Regions from separate parts of the Homo sapiens genome. Here region 1 is linked to region 2. Evidence: promoter capture Hi-C in human tissues and cell types (Jung and others, 2019). All regions are on one chromosome and are shown on one strand. Each heading gives the region's core, a stretch centred on a gene start or on the middle of the fragment in contact. The rest is flanking DNA. Distances are from core to core; before and after follow the strand shown. Region 1 holds the start of LOC105375648 (a long non-coding RNA gene). Region 2 holds the start of FSBP (fibrinogen silencer binding protein).

Region 1 (6,752 bases), core at 1,115-3,614, 210 kb after region 2:
TATAATAGAGTGGTTACGTTTTTAGACTTGGGAATCAGACTTCCTGGCTTCAAATCCTGGTGGTACCAATTCACTAGCTGAGTTACTTTGTGGAAGTTTACTTATGCTCCTTAGGTCAGAGTTTCCTCACTAGAAAATAGTAATAATAGTAAGTACATCATGGCTAATGCTTTCAGATCGGAATGAGTTAATGTTATCTTTTTCCTGGTGCAGGACCCTCTGTACAGGAATCTTGTCATGGTTATCACCTTATTGCTAGCAATGTGGTTTTTGAATTAAAGCAACCATTTTCCTAGTTTCTGATCATTATCTTTGTACTAAACAGCCTGGGATTACCCCTCTGCAACTATAATTTAGGACATGCACATAGCTGCCTTGACTTAGATGGACTGATCTTGCACTGGTTTTCAGCTTGGCTCTGACATTCAGAACTTTGGCAAATGTGCACTGGTCAAGTGTTTGCAGCGAGAGGCACTGCAGAGGGGAAGGCAGGCCCTCCTGTGTCGCTTTCACTAGGAGGTGGCCGTGGCAGAACTAGCTTCCTCTGAAGTACCAGGTGGGTGACATGCCATGGACTGGGGTGTGATTCTCACTCATGTCTGCATCTAGAATGCCTGTGGTTCTACCACACACTCGGCCTCGCCCCCATTTCCCAGGCCTCTGGTCCTACTGAAGGTCAGATAATGAACTAAGGCAGGAATAGGATTCTTTTTGCCATTTGATATACAAAGTTGTGGGGTGGGTCGAAAGAGGGCACAGGAGGAAGAAAGAAGGTAGACCACGTTCCCAGAACTAATCCCAACCCAAACTTTAAAAGCACACAGCTCAAGTGCTTCTATAACAACCACCTTTTCCATTTTTCCACCCTCTGAACATCCAGCCATGAACAAGGGCAGTTCTTTTTTATCCTTTTTTTTTTTGAGATGTAGTCTTGCTCTGTCACCCAGGCTGGAGTGCAGTGGTGCAATCTCAGCTCACTGCAACCTCCGCCTCCCGGGTTCAAGCAATTCTCCTGCCTCAGCCTCCTGAGTAGCTGGAATTACGGTCACGCGCCACCACGCACGGCTAGAACAAGGGCAGTGCTAAGCATGATCCACGGACATGGTTTCCCAAGGGGAGCCCTGGAGTGGGTCGCTTAGGGTACTGTGCGGGGCCAGCTAGAGAGACAAAAGAGCAGCCCTGTCATCAGTTGCCTGCATCTCAGTAGTTCTTTGGAATAGCTCTGCCACCAACTACAAGCAACCGTTAGCCTAAGCTTGGCAGTTGGCCGACATCAGAGGCCTGGCAGATGGCCCATGTGGGAGCCCTTCCAGGACCTCAGTCGGAATCTCCAACAGATGACATTTGCCTAGAGAGTGTGGTAGGTTGGGCAATTCTTGCTCCCATAAGCATCTACAAATCTCTTTAGCAGGAGAGGTTCTGGTTTGCAGGCCATGGGCTTGGATGCATATCTGTCTGTGAGTGCTCCTTCCCACACATCCCCTAACCAGAGATGGAATCCTGGAACAAAGTGTACTACTCCACGCTCAACATCGCAGGTTTCTTCTGTTACAGACATTTGCTGACATTCTTGTTTTCCTTACCTGTGGGGCAGCATGGAGAGAAATCACAAGAGACATTTGAGGACTTGTGTTGAAATTTAGATTCTTCCATCTTTTAGCAATGGATGCTGGGGCAAGTCACTTAATTGAAAAGAGTTTCTTTATCTGTGAGATGGGGATAGAACAATATTTACCTGAGACGTTTTAAAAATGGCATCGTAGGTAGATAATGAATGCTGTTTTTCAGAATCGATGAATTATTTTTCTCATGAAAGAAGAGATGAAGTCCTACTTGGAATTGATGCAATAATGCTCAGTGCTCCTCTCCTCAGGTATGGACTTCTCCGAGGGTCTCAAGATAGCCCTGGTGGTTGGCATCACACCTTGATGCTTCCTTCCTCACTTTGTTTGTTTTTTGAGATGGAGTCTCACACTGTTGCCCAGGCTGGAGTGCAATGGCGCGATCTCGGCTCACTGCAACCTCCGCCTCCCGGGTTCAAGAGATTCTCCTGCCTCAGCTCCTGAGTAGCTGAGACTACAGGCGTGTGCCACCATGCCTGGCTAATTTTTGTATTTTTAGTAGAGATGGGGTTTTGCCATGTTGGCCAGGTTGGTCTCGAACTCCTGACCTTAGGTGATCCGCCCACCTTGGCCTCCTACAGTGCTGGGGTTACAGGCGTGAGCCACTGCACCCTGCATTTCTTCCTTACTTTGTGATAAACTTTGCTCGTGTGTGTGTGTGTGTGTGTGTGTGTGTGTGAGAGAGAGAGAGAGAGAGAGAGAGAGATGGAGACAGAGACAGAGGGAAGGAGGGAGAGATTAGAGATTATGATGGTTAATTTTCTGTATCAACTTGGCTGGGCCATGGTGTCCAGGTATGCAGTCAAACACAATTCTGGATATTTCTGTGAGGGTGTTTTGGATGAAATTACCATTTTAATCTGTGCACCGTGAGTAAAGCAGGTTGCCCTCCCTAGTACCGGTGGGCCTCATCTGATCTGTCAAAGGCCTGAAAAGAACAAAAGACTGACTTCCTCCAACAAGATGGAATTCTGCAGCAGACAGCTGGCCTTCGGACTCCAGCCAAAACGCTGGCTTTTCCTGGGTCTTCAGCCAACCAGCCCACCCTGCGGATTTTAGATTTGCTAGCCTGTAATTGCATGGGCCAATTTCTTAAAAGAAATCTTTCTGTGTAGAGATACATATCCTATTGGCTCTGTTTCTCTGGAGAGCACTGACTCAGAGAGATACGAGAGACAATGAGAACATTGGCATTCTCTCTTTCTCTCTTTTTTTCCCTGAGACAGGGTCTCACTCTGTCACCCACGCCGGCATGCAGTGGCACGATCTTGACTCTGCTTCCCAGGCTCAAACGATTCTCCAATCTCAGCCTCCTGAGTAGCTAGGACTACAGGCACATGGTGGCCACACCCTGCTAATTTTTGTATTTTTTTGTAGAGATGCAGTTTTGCCATGTTGCCCAAACTGGTCTCGAACTCCTGAGCTCAAAGCAATTTGCCCGCCTTGGCCTCCCAAGCTGGAATGACAGGCGTGAGCCACTGCACCCCGCCAACATTGGCATTCTCTGCTGCCTTCTCTGGACTGAGGAACTTCACTCAACAACTGGGCTCACAGCCCTTTTTCCGCAGAGATTTTGTGGAATAGCCTTTTTGTCTCATGCCTGCTTTTCATTTATTTGCTTGTTTGAGATAAATTAAAAGCAGAAAATGAAGGAATCGTTTGGTGATTATTAGATTGCACTACGTTTAAGTGAATCTTAACTCAAAGTAAGACCAAAGACACACACCTATTCCACTTTTGAAGATAAAAGACAACACAAGCCAGTTTCTACCAACCTAGTTCTATTATAAGTACCTATAAGATAAGCATCATGATTTAATAATTATAATATGATAATAATAACAATAGATGCCACTTAGGAGCCCTTGACAGTTTGGGCAGACACAGGCCCTTTACATATGTTATTACTTAAACATAATTGATGCCAGAGACCTTACTCAATGCATTGAGGCATCACTGCAGGCTCGCAAATTATAGTGCTTAATTTCTTCTTAGAAATGATATATTATGAAATAACTGTCTCCAGACATTTTTCTGTCATATACTTTCCAGTTCAGCTCTAAGTCTATCTTCTCCACAATCTTCAAGTGATGCAGTAAATATGTATGCTGCAGAGGGTCATGTTTGTCTAGATCCAATGGTAGAAAAGCCAGCGTGGTCTGAGAATGTGTTATTCTGGCTAATCAGGTATTCTGGTTCTATGGATTTCACATGACCATTTGTGGCTGAACAGTGTCAGATAAACTTAACTCAATAAAATACATTTAATGCTTGGCCTCTTTGGAATATAATTGTGTTTTGATGATGAGTCATAAACTTCTTTAGGATATCTGGCCGCGTTTGAGTCATGTTTGTGGTCATCAGTTCTCATTGTATTGTATCCCTGCTTTCTAATCAATAGGATGCTAAATCAATTAGCTTTTATTGCATTACTTGCCACAGGGGAAAAGGGGCTGAATTTGTCTAAAATATCCTTCATGAGCTATTTAAAAGTGATATAAGATAATGGGAAAAAGGAGCTGGGAAATACACATTCTTTTTTTTTTGTTTTTCACCAGCACCTGCCAGGCTCTCTGAACACTTTTACATTTGCTGCCTAGATAAATGACTGTGGCATGATCTGTCTTCAGAACTCACTGGATTTCCTGAATATGCTATTGTCTTTCTTGCAAGGATTAGAATTTTGACCCAGGAAATGCTCTGTGTATGACCCCTGCAGCGACACCAACCACTGGTGTCCATAAAGTGCTGCTCCATGGCAAGTGAAACGCAGACAGTGGGGAAAGAGTTTTGCAGGCAGGCTGCCCTACGTTAGAGGACAAGCTACATCACTCACCAGCTGTGTGACCTTGAATAAGTTACTCAATTTCCCTGGACCTTCTTCTTTTCTGTCAAAATGTGATGATAATATCTGTGTCATGGTTGTTGGGGCAAGAGAGTTATAAAGGTTCAACGAGGCAATTAATGTAAACTGCTTAGTACATCGTCTGGAATGATAATTTACAAATGGCATGTGGTATAATTGTTTGTAACCTTGTCATCAGCTCAGATTTCCCTGACCAATGGAGATTCAGACAAAACTCTCTAGAACTTTAAATTATGCTGCAATGATCCCCAAAATTCCTGCAGATTCTGGAGGCTTAGTCTCAAGTGGACAATCTTCCCATTTTCCCTCCATCCCCCCTCACTCCCAGGCCACTGGCTTTGTGCCTGCATGTGCTATTTCTGTTTCACTTTGCACCCACCTGGACGTGAATCCCAGCTCAGAGGAGCGATTTTACACTATTCAGATGCTGACAAGGTAGAACAGTTCTCATGCTTCAATACTCATTTTAGTACTTCGACTTCCAAATTTTTCCTTCTAATTCAGAAATGTTCACTCAAATTTTCTGTAAGGCCAGATCAAGAATGTGAAATAAAGAAAATTCAGCACATGGTACTATGGTTGAGTAGTCTCTTCTTGGGCAGCTTTCCAGTGAGAACATGTTCATTTTTATCCTTAAGGAGGTAAATTACTTTGTTATTTTATAAAAATCACCATTCACCCAATTATTGACCCAGACCCTCGGTTCAAAAACAAGAGCAGGATGTGTGTTTGTGTGTGTGTGTGTGTGATTTTTCACACTTTGATATTTTTAATAGAAAATTTAAAACATAAGCAAAAGTAGAGAGAATAATGTAATGAGTTAATGAACCCCCGTATGCCATCACCCAGCGTAGGGAAGAATCAGCTCATGCCCAGTCTTATTTTATCTCTGCTTCCCCACACCACACTAGCCACCCCGTTCAACCCAAATGGATTCTTTTGAGGCAGATCCAAGGCAGCAAACCATTTTGTCCATAACGATGTCCATATGTATTGGTAAATGATAAGAACTCTTCTTAAAAACTAAAACCACATAACCATTATCATACTTAAAAATAGATGACATTCAAATTTCTCTAATTGTATTATTTTTTTCCTTTTTTATTTTTTGAGAGTTGGTTTGTTTCAACATTCTTTTGAATTTTTTTTTTAATGTACAGGTTTCTTCTCTCCTTTGTTTTTCAGTTTATATATGGAAGAAGCAGAGGCATTGTCCTGCAGTTTCTCACATTTGGTATTTTGCTGATTGCAACCCTGAAGTGCATTTCATCTGCAACCGTTTTTTTCTGACCAGCGTTTCTTATAAATGCTAGACTCTAGAATTGGAAGTTTGAGCTGATTCAAGTCCAACTTATTTGCCAAGAATCCTCCATTAGAAGTATCGCATACTTCTCTTAGGAGACGCATACGGACCAGTTGTCTCTGTGATGCAGCAGCTGCTGATGGTCTTTGTTTACATCCATTATTTCAGTAGGGGTTGCAAAATGGCAATATTTTAATTCTATCATTCCTTAATTTATTATTTGAGAGACTTACATAAAGAGAAACTTTACCTTGAAAAATTACCCTGATACACTGTTTATACAGCAAGGACAGGCAAAACCCTTGATTCCTGCCCCGTATTTTCATGTTTATAATGTGGTTCCCTGGCATCCACTAAAGGTGGTCAGTGAGTATTTGCTGTCAAGTGTAATTATGATCTCATGGATTTTAACACATTTGATTTGTTTAAATTCATCAAAGTCATTGTTCTTACTTGTTCTCAAATTTTTCCATACTTTCCAAGTGATAGCCACTTAATTTTGGCTTCTAAATGCTTCGAAACAATCACAGTTTTTAGTAAATTCCTTGGTGTCTGGTATGTCAAATGTGCTAGGCACATGTACTTTTCCTGCCCCAGAACTATGGTCAGCAATTTCTCCAAGGAGGCTTGATTCCTTTAAATATCATTTTCCAATGATTTTTCAAAATTATAGGGCCAGGCCCAGCATTTTGGGAGGCTAAGGCAGGCGGATCACTAGGTCAGGAGTTTGAGACTAGCCTGACCAACATGGTGAAACCCCGTCTTTACTAAAAATACAAAAATTAGCTGGGTGTGGTGGCACATGTCTGTAATCCCAGCTACTTGGGAGGCTGAGGCAGGAGAATCACTTGAACCTGGGAGGCGGAGGTTGTGGTGAGCTGAGATTGTGCCACTGCACCCCCCAGCCTGGGCAACAAGAGTGAAACTCTGTCTCAAAAAAAAAAAAAAAAAAAATTATAAG
Region 2 (7,724 bases), core at 113-2,612:
CATCCAGCAATCTTTCACTGTTTTCTGAAAGATAATACACTTAAAGCTTTTAACACATTGGCTCACAGTGAGAGCTCAGTAAATGTAATTTGCTTCTCCATTGTTAAAAGAATGAAAAACAAGATAATTGAGAATTTATAGCATTTCTGTGGAACTACAGTTCCCTGGATAGGTGCTGTATCTAGATTCATTTTTGATTTCATTGGGTCTTGCACAGTGCCTGGGAGCATTTATATACGTGGTCAGTAATTAAAAACAATTTATTTTTCCTACCTCTTAATAACTATCACAGTTGTTCAGTAATAGTTTTATTGGATAGAACTATGTTCAAGTATGTTCTAATTTATTCCCCTATCTGGAAAAATATGTATATTGTGAGAAAATAGGTTTGTCTTGCTTACATTATTATGTATCATATATTTTCATACTGGGGTTAACAAATATATTCTAAGCACCGAAACTGGTGGCCTTGAAAATGGCTAGACTAGCTGTTTCCTTTCATAGTCCAAACTGTGTGAATATAGCTAAATAAAAAATCTGGCTCTATTATAATAGCAAATGTGATTTTGTATGTGGAGTCTTAAGGCGTGATTATACTGTTTCTCACCATGAACAGTGATTTTTTACACATGATAAGGCAGGCTAGCAAATTCACATACATTACGGCTAGAATAATCCATTGCTTTAAAAACATGATTTTTACCTGCTTTTTAGATTGAGTGTTCTATAAAAATTTTTTCTTAAGTGAAAAAAATATGCAGAGGCTAATGTAGACTGTAAAATGAAGGAGAAGCTTAGCTTTACTGTGGAGTCTGGGTCTGGGTGTAACCTAACTAGCTAGAGGATATGCAATTCCTGATTGACAGCAGATCCAGCATTATGCAGATTTTGTAAGGGAGAACACTCAGCTCAGAAACAGTGATGAGAGGCTCTGTTAGGAATTACTACATTCACTACTCATATCTTTTAGTTTTCTGTCTACTGGATTTGTAAATAAATAGCACAAAACAGTTCCTCTTTTGTTTTTATTAAAGTGATACTGCAATGCAGTTCAGTCTGTCAGCTAGGCATACATGTGTGAAATTTGATATTCTCACTAAATTAGCTAATTTTTAGCTGTGTTCCATGCTTATCTCTAGACCTTTGTGTATTAAATCCTGTCTCGAGCTGTTCCCTTTATACACAAGTGTGTTTTGCTTGTGCCTTCCTGTCTTCTTCAGTGAGAAGCTTTATGTAGGTCAGGCTTGGCTTAAGCAGATTTCCTGAACCTGCGTCAGCTTAAGCTGGAGGAATTTTAATAAACCCTCCCCTGTAGGCGTGGGCCTAAATGAGGCTAGCCTAGTTAAGCCTGATCTTTTTCTGTTTGTGAAAAGAGCTGAGCAGAGCTGAAGGCTGCATGGTGGTTTCAGAAACTGCCTACTTAATTTGAAAAGAACAATGGTAGGAAAGGCTAGATCTTCCAATTTTACCTTATCCGAAAAGCTTGATTTGCTAAAGCTTGTGAAGCCATATGTGAAAATTCTCGAAGAACACACTAATAAACATTCAGTAATAGTAGAAAAGAATAGATGTTGGGATATCATAGCAGTTAACTATAATGCAATTGGAGTAGACCGCCCTCCTCGAACAGCACAGGGCCTACGCACCCTTTATAAAAGGCTCAAAGAATATGCCAAACAGGAGCTATTGCAGCAAAAAGAGACCCAATCAGATTTTAAAAGCAATATTTCTGAGCCAACCAAGAAAGTTATGGAGATGATTCCCCAGATTTCCAGTTTTTGCCTGGTAAGAGACAGGAACCACATACAAAGGTAAGCTTTATTTTGTTTTGTTATGGAAAATTATGGCGCCTCCTATCTATTGGGCTTTGGCTTAGTCGTGATAGAGATATGCATAGTAAGCATCCCCACAACGGGAGCAATGAATAGTGTCTTTGTTTTGCATTTTTTAAAAAGAGAAAAGTGAGGCTATGAGGAATTTTTCTGTTGCATTTAAGCTACTTTTTACTGTCTTCCCCTCCCCCTTCCCTCCTGTAGTTTCTAAAAGTAAAGGTTAGGGAGGAATAAGTGGGTTGAAATTTGTGACATCACTTCATAAACTTCTTAAGCTTTAAAATTAAATTATTTAGTTTGCTTCTGAGAGATACTTTTTTTCTCATTTAAGATTACATTTCACTGGAATTTTCAATTTTATATAAAATTTATATAAAGTTAGCAGTTTCTAGAGAAATGGAACCTTGCTTTTTTATGAATTGTCATTGTCTACACTTATTGAATATATGTTAACTAACAAATATAAACAAAATCAATAAGTAAACTTGTTAATGGCATGATTGTGTATATGAAGACAGTTTAAATTATTTTTCTAACACGTTTAAAATAAAGATGAACACAACTAAAGGGAGTTAATGCCTAATTAGGGATTCAGTTTACTTAATAAAATTAAAAGTTTTTTGTTGTTGTTGTTTTTATTCCTTAATAGTCTAGTTTCACTTTGATCTTGGGTCGTATAGGAAAGAGTAAGCTTTCTCTTACTGCTTTGCAAGGATATCAAATTATGAATTTTAAAATACCCCTAAGAGCAACTGGGTTTTTTTAGAGTTAGAAGCAATTTTTTGGTTAAACTTGTCTTCTATGTAACTATTTGCCTTGGAATTTTCAAAAGTATTATCTTGCCACTAATTCAGATTGTAACCTCTGGCAAAATATAAAAATGGCAGCTACATTCTTATTCTGAACCATTTAGGGTAATTTAAACAAATTGTAAACTCCTTGTTAGTTTGAGGAGCCTTTCAAACAAAGCTTTACACAATGTGCTTTTCTATTGGTGGAAGAGGCATTATATAAGCAAATTATTGATTACTATGAAATCCCTTTGAAATTAGGAGAGAAGCAGAAAAAAACCACTTTGTAGCCAAGTGCATATGTTATTTTGGTAATTTACTAGGAAAGTATTTTTGAGCCTAGCTTCTTACCAGATACTGCTTATTTCTACTTGATAGCACAGTAAAAAAAATATCACCAGTGGGAATCCAGGACATGAATACACAGTGGATTAATTCTTGGGGCCACTGGTTAAAATGTTCACTGTGATGACAAATGATGAAATCCCAATAGCTAGATATCCAGAAAACTACGCAGTAAAATTGTTTTATACTGTGCTACTTATGCAGAATTTTCTCTCCCTTGAACCATGGAGAAAAGTGTTTTTTGCATCGCAGGTATAAAACTGTACCCTTTGGTTAGTAGGTATAGGTTTTTATAATTTGAAAACGACATGTAGAAACTGTAATTTTAGTTAGTTGCATATTTTAAAAATAACAGTGAGTAGAAGAAAAATAATATATAAATATACAAGTATCTGGTTACATTTTGACTATTTGTGTGTGTGAATATTTACAATATTCACACACAAAAAATCTTTTGGGATATGAACATTTCTCTGATAAAAATGAGTTGATTTGTACATTTCTATACCTATGGCTTAAATAATACCAATTTGTTAGGTTTTAAAGGGAAGAATATAAGAAACATGCCTTTTAAATTCTTATGTTACTGTGTCTACATTGACATTTTCTCTGTATTAGCTTATTTCTTTAATATATATATTTAATGTGCTTATATTTATTTGATTGATATCATCCTTGAATCTTAATAATCTCAGAAGTTTATAATTATTCTATAATCTTAACTATACTTCTACATAAATATGCCTGTTAATCTTACCAAACTCTTCCTTTTTAATAAGGAAAATACTAGTGTTTGCGTTAACATACTTAAAAATATATACCTGTTTTGTAAGGCTATTTATTTTCTGTAACTCACATTGACTTATGTCTTTATTTTTACCTCTTCCTAATATCAGTTTATATTTTGTGTTTTTGTAAACTGATCTTCAAAGTTCTGATTCTCAAGTCCTTCTCTGTCATTTTTGTGACCTGCTCTAAAGCTTTTTTTCTCCCTTTTTATATTGTTATGCCTTAGTTGTAATGTTTTAGCTAAAATGGAAAGGAATGTTCCAGATATGAGGCATATTTTTAATTTACTTGGTAGTATTATGTCTATGTTTATACTCTCTATTTTACATACTAATTTGAAATAGTAATTATGTGGTTTTAAAAACTTAATTTTCATATGCAATTTTAGCCTTTTCCCATTCCAGGTTTTAGCAGAGCTATTAATAGAAGCAGAGCTTGCTACTTTGAATTACATTTATAATTAATTGTTTTGTTTTTGGAAATAATAAAATGACACAAACAGAGACAAGAACAAAAATGAATTTATATAACCTACAAATAGATTTTTTATTATATACTATATATGTTTCATTTTGTCTCTTAGATAAATATCTGATATTTCTGGCAATTTAATGGCATTAGTAAGTAACGTATGGGTAGTTTTAATCTTTTTCTATGCATTCTGCTTGAACTTGTTCCAGCATTTTAATCATCCATGTAGAATGTATTCTTTTAATTATGTTTCTTATTATATGTAAAATCTTCTCTAAATAATATTAAATAAAGTATTTCCATTCATGTTCAATGATCTAATTTCCCTTTATAACTTTTATTTTTAAGTTAGGCAGAAGCATAAATTAAAAAAAACAACCTCAAGGAGCAGATATTCTTAATTCACAGCTTCACGTTATACATAAAATTATGTTTATAAAACAGAATTTTAAGGTTTATTGCATTTATAATATCATAACTTGTTATGCTGAAGCTTAAATTATGCTAAAGCTGTAGTTGTCTCCATTGGGAATGCATATTTGGTGGAAATTATGTGTAAATTTAATAAACCTTTAATATATCTGTATAGGCCATTAAAAATGTTTCATTAAAAAATCATTTAGTTTGTTTTTTTTCAGTCATTCAACACATAATGAGCACCTACTAGGTTCTAAGTACAGTACCTGCTAGGTACTGAGTATACAGTTGTGGATTAAAACCATTGCTCTTGTGAACTTTACCTGACCAGTGATTGAAAGACTTAAACAGCATCTGAGTCATATGGTTCAGAATAGGTAAAACGGAAGTTTTTCCTATCAGATAAAAGCATCTGAAATAAGAAAGTTAGGATAACCTCCAGTAGTTGAGCATATCCCAAAGCCATATACAATCTTTATGTTTTATTTTTTGGGCAAATGCAGAAATCAGTACCTCCCATAGATGGCCTTTCACTGTCCTTTTATAAGTTATGGGCCTTCATGGTTTTAAGATCAGTCCAGGAGAGCAGAAGCCTGAGGTCTAGGGCTAAGGTATGGGGATAACAAGACTGAGAATGCATTAAATGGCTCTGTACACCATTTGAAAACCTTAGGGTTGTGGGAAAGATTGGTGTCTGTTTGACAACATGAAAACTGGCTTTTCTTTTTATTTTCTTCATTGGCCTTCTATAATATTTGTAATTTCCTGCTCCTTTAAAGCACAATTTTAAAGTTAAGGATGGGGGAGATCTGTGAGTATGTATTATTGAAATCCCAATCTTAGTCACTTTAATGTATTTCAAGTGTTTAAGATTTTTTTTTATTTTGTAACTTTATAGTTTTAAAGCTTTATCATTTAATGTACATTAAATTAAAATTATGCTATAAATATACACTTTTTCTTCATTTGATTTACATATTATAATGCTTTTTTGTGTGCTATAGTGCAAACTTGGATGAGGAGGCACAGGCTGGTACCAGTTCACTACAGGTAATGTTGGATCACCATCCTGTTGCTATTACAGTGGAGGTGAAGCAAGAAGAAGACATTAAACCACCTCCTCCACTGGTTTTAAATTCTCAACAGAGTGATACTTTAGAGCAAAGAGAAGAACATGAATTAGTACATGTTATGGAAAGATCCTTGTCGCCTTCACTTTCCTCTGTTGATATGAGAATGACATCGTCTCCATCTTCTATTCCAAGGAGAGATGATTTTTTTCGGCATGAGAGTGGTGAACACTTTAGGTCACTATTAGGGTATGATCCTCAGATCCTGCAAATGTTGAAAGAGGAGCATCAGATAATTTTAGAAAATCAAAAAAATTTTGGATTGTATGTTCAGGAGAAGAGGGATGGATTGAAAAGAAGGCAGCAGCTAGAGGAAGAGCTACTAAGAGCAAAAATTGAAGTGGAGAAGCTGAAAGCAATTCGCTTACGGCATGATCTACCTGAATATAACAGTCTCTAAGTTTTTTTTTCAATCTTGCAATTTGATAATTTTGATTTTGGCCAAATTACTTTAATTTGGGAATATCCTGAAACAGAATACACGTTCTTGAAAAATGTTGTTAATCTCTATTATGGAAAAACTTTTTAGATATAATTTTCTAATTATTTTCTTTTGAGATATTAAAATTTACTGGTTGGTTGGCATGGTTATAGTTTTTATTGTCTTCTTTTTTTTTTCCCTAAGTTTAATTGTTGACCTTACAAAAGATATTTTATTCTGATCACTAAGATATACACAAATGCATATACAAACACATATTCTTTCAAAGTTCTGAGTCTTCAACATTTTTAGTTAGAACTTTGAAAGCTATAATTAGAGATTTTTAAGTCAGTCTAATTTAGGAGCTATACTAACCTAATACCAAGAAGCTTGTCTGTATGACATTGGTTTTTATGCTTTTATCTTTTGAAGGAGTAAATCCTAGGATTTTAGAGATGGAAGATATTTGGAGAACACTTTTTTTCCATCTCTGCAGTTTAGGGGTAATGAAACAGGTCCAGGGAGAACTCAATGACTTACTTAGGGTAACAAAGCTATTTATGGCAGAGCAGAGACCAGCACTTAGTTTTTCTTTGTGTAATTTCCATCCCGCTATTCGATAGAAGTAAATATCCACTAAAACATTCTCTAGATTTAAATATTAGAAGCATTTCTTTCATTAAAATTGCCTTTAAAGATTGTTAGGTTGTGAAATCAGGATAATTACATCAATTACCCCCATTCTCTCTCTATTTTTGTTCCAGCAAAATAGATAAGGTATTCCATTGAAGCTATTATATATTTTGGCTGTGTGATTTAAAGACATGTCTTAATTCATTTTGAATGTCCTGTTCTGGAAAAAATTTCTTTCACAGTAAAAATCAGAATGAACAAAATTAAAATTTTATGTATTTTATAAGTATTGTTATTTTAGTATTCATGGAAATAAAACCTCAATTCTTAAAGCATACATATTAAATTTATATTAAATCTCTAATATGTATGTTACTTAAGAATTTCTATTTTTGCTGGGGTTTTGTTGAGAAGGGATTTTTAAGCCAAGTTGTAGAATGGGGTGGGTGTAATTTCAGCAGTGAAGGGGACCATGGGTGTTTGAAGTCAAGAGTGAGACGCTGGAAAAAAGACAAAAGAATGGGAAAAAGTGGATTGAGTATATAAGCACAAATGCAGTGCTAAGCCATTGATTTTAAGTGAATGTAGAGAGAGTCAATTTGGGCTGTAGTATCCTGGACTAGGAAGGACATCTCCCTGGACTAGGTAGGGTAGCTGCTGTTTAGCTCCAGCAGAATTTTCACATGCGGGGATAAACCAGAAATCTGCATTTTTTAATGAGGAATCTTCCAATTTTAAAATGTTTGCAAATAACACAAAATGCTTTTAAAACATTATACAGACAACATGTGAGTGGGCCTCACTGAGCCATTGGGCTTCCACTTTGTGGCCTTTGGAGTAGACCAATGGTTTTCCAAGTATGGGTCCTGACCAGCAGCATCAGCATCACTTGAGA

The links. The method cuts DNA at HindIII sites, captures the fragments that hold promoters and counts their contacts. A contact is called where the count stands out against the background at its distance.
Region 1: a fragment that was not itself captured here is called in contact with the fragment with the promoter of FSBP in region 2 in 1 of the 25 tissues and cell types used here (hippocampus).

Annotation. Positions count from the first base shown.
Region 1 is chr8:94,221,843-94,228,594 of GRCh38, reverse strand. LOC105375648 (a long non-coding RNA gene) reads left to right here and starts at 506. Exons shown (of 3, transcript XR_928424.4): 1 at 506-556; 2 at 1,789-1,873; 3 at 3,000-3,905. The HindIII fragment of the contact is 5,893 bases long and covers 1-5,310 here.
Region 2 is chr8:94,430,582-94,438,305 of GRCh38, reverse strand. FSBP (fibrinogen silencer binding protein) reads left to right here and starts at 1,362. Exons shown (of 2, transcript NM_001256141.2): 1 at 1,362-1,811; 2 at 5,650-7,724. The coding sequence starts at 1,438. The coding sequence ends at 6,175. All of the region lies in intron 3 of RAD54B (RAD54 homolog B), which reads left to right. RefSeq lists an enhancer at 3,006-3,506. The HindIII fragment of the contact is 647 bases long and covers 1,011-1,657 here.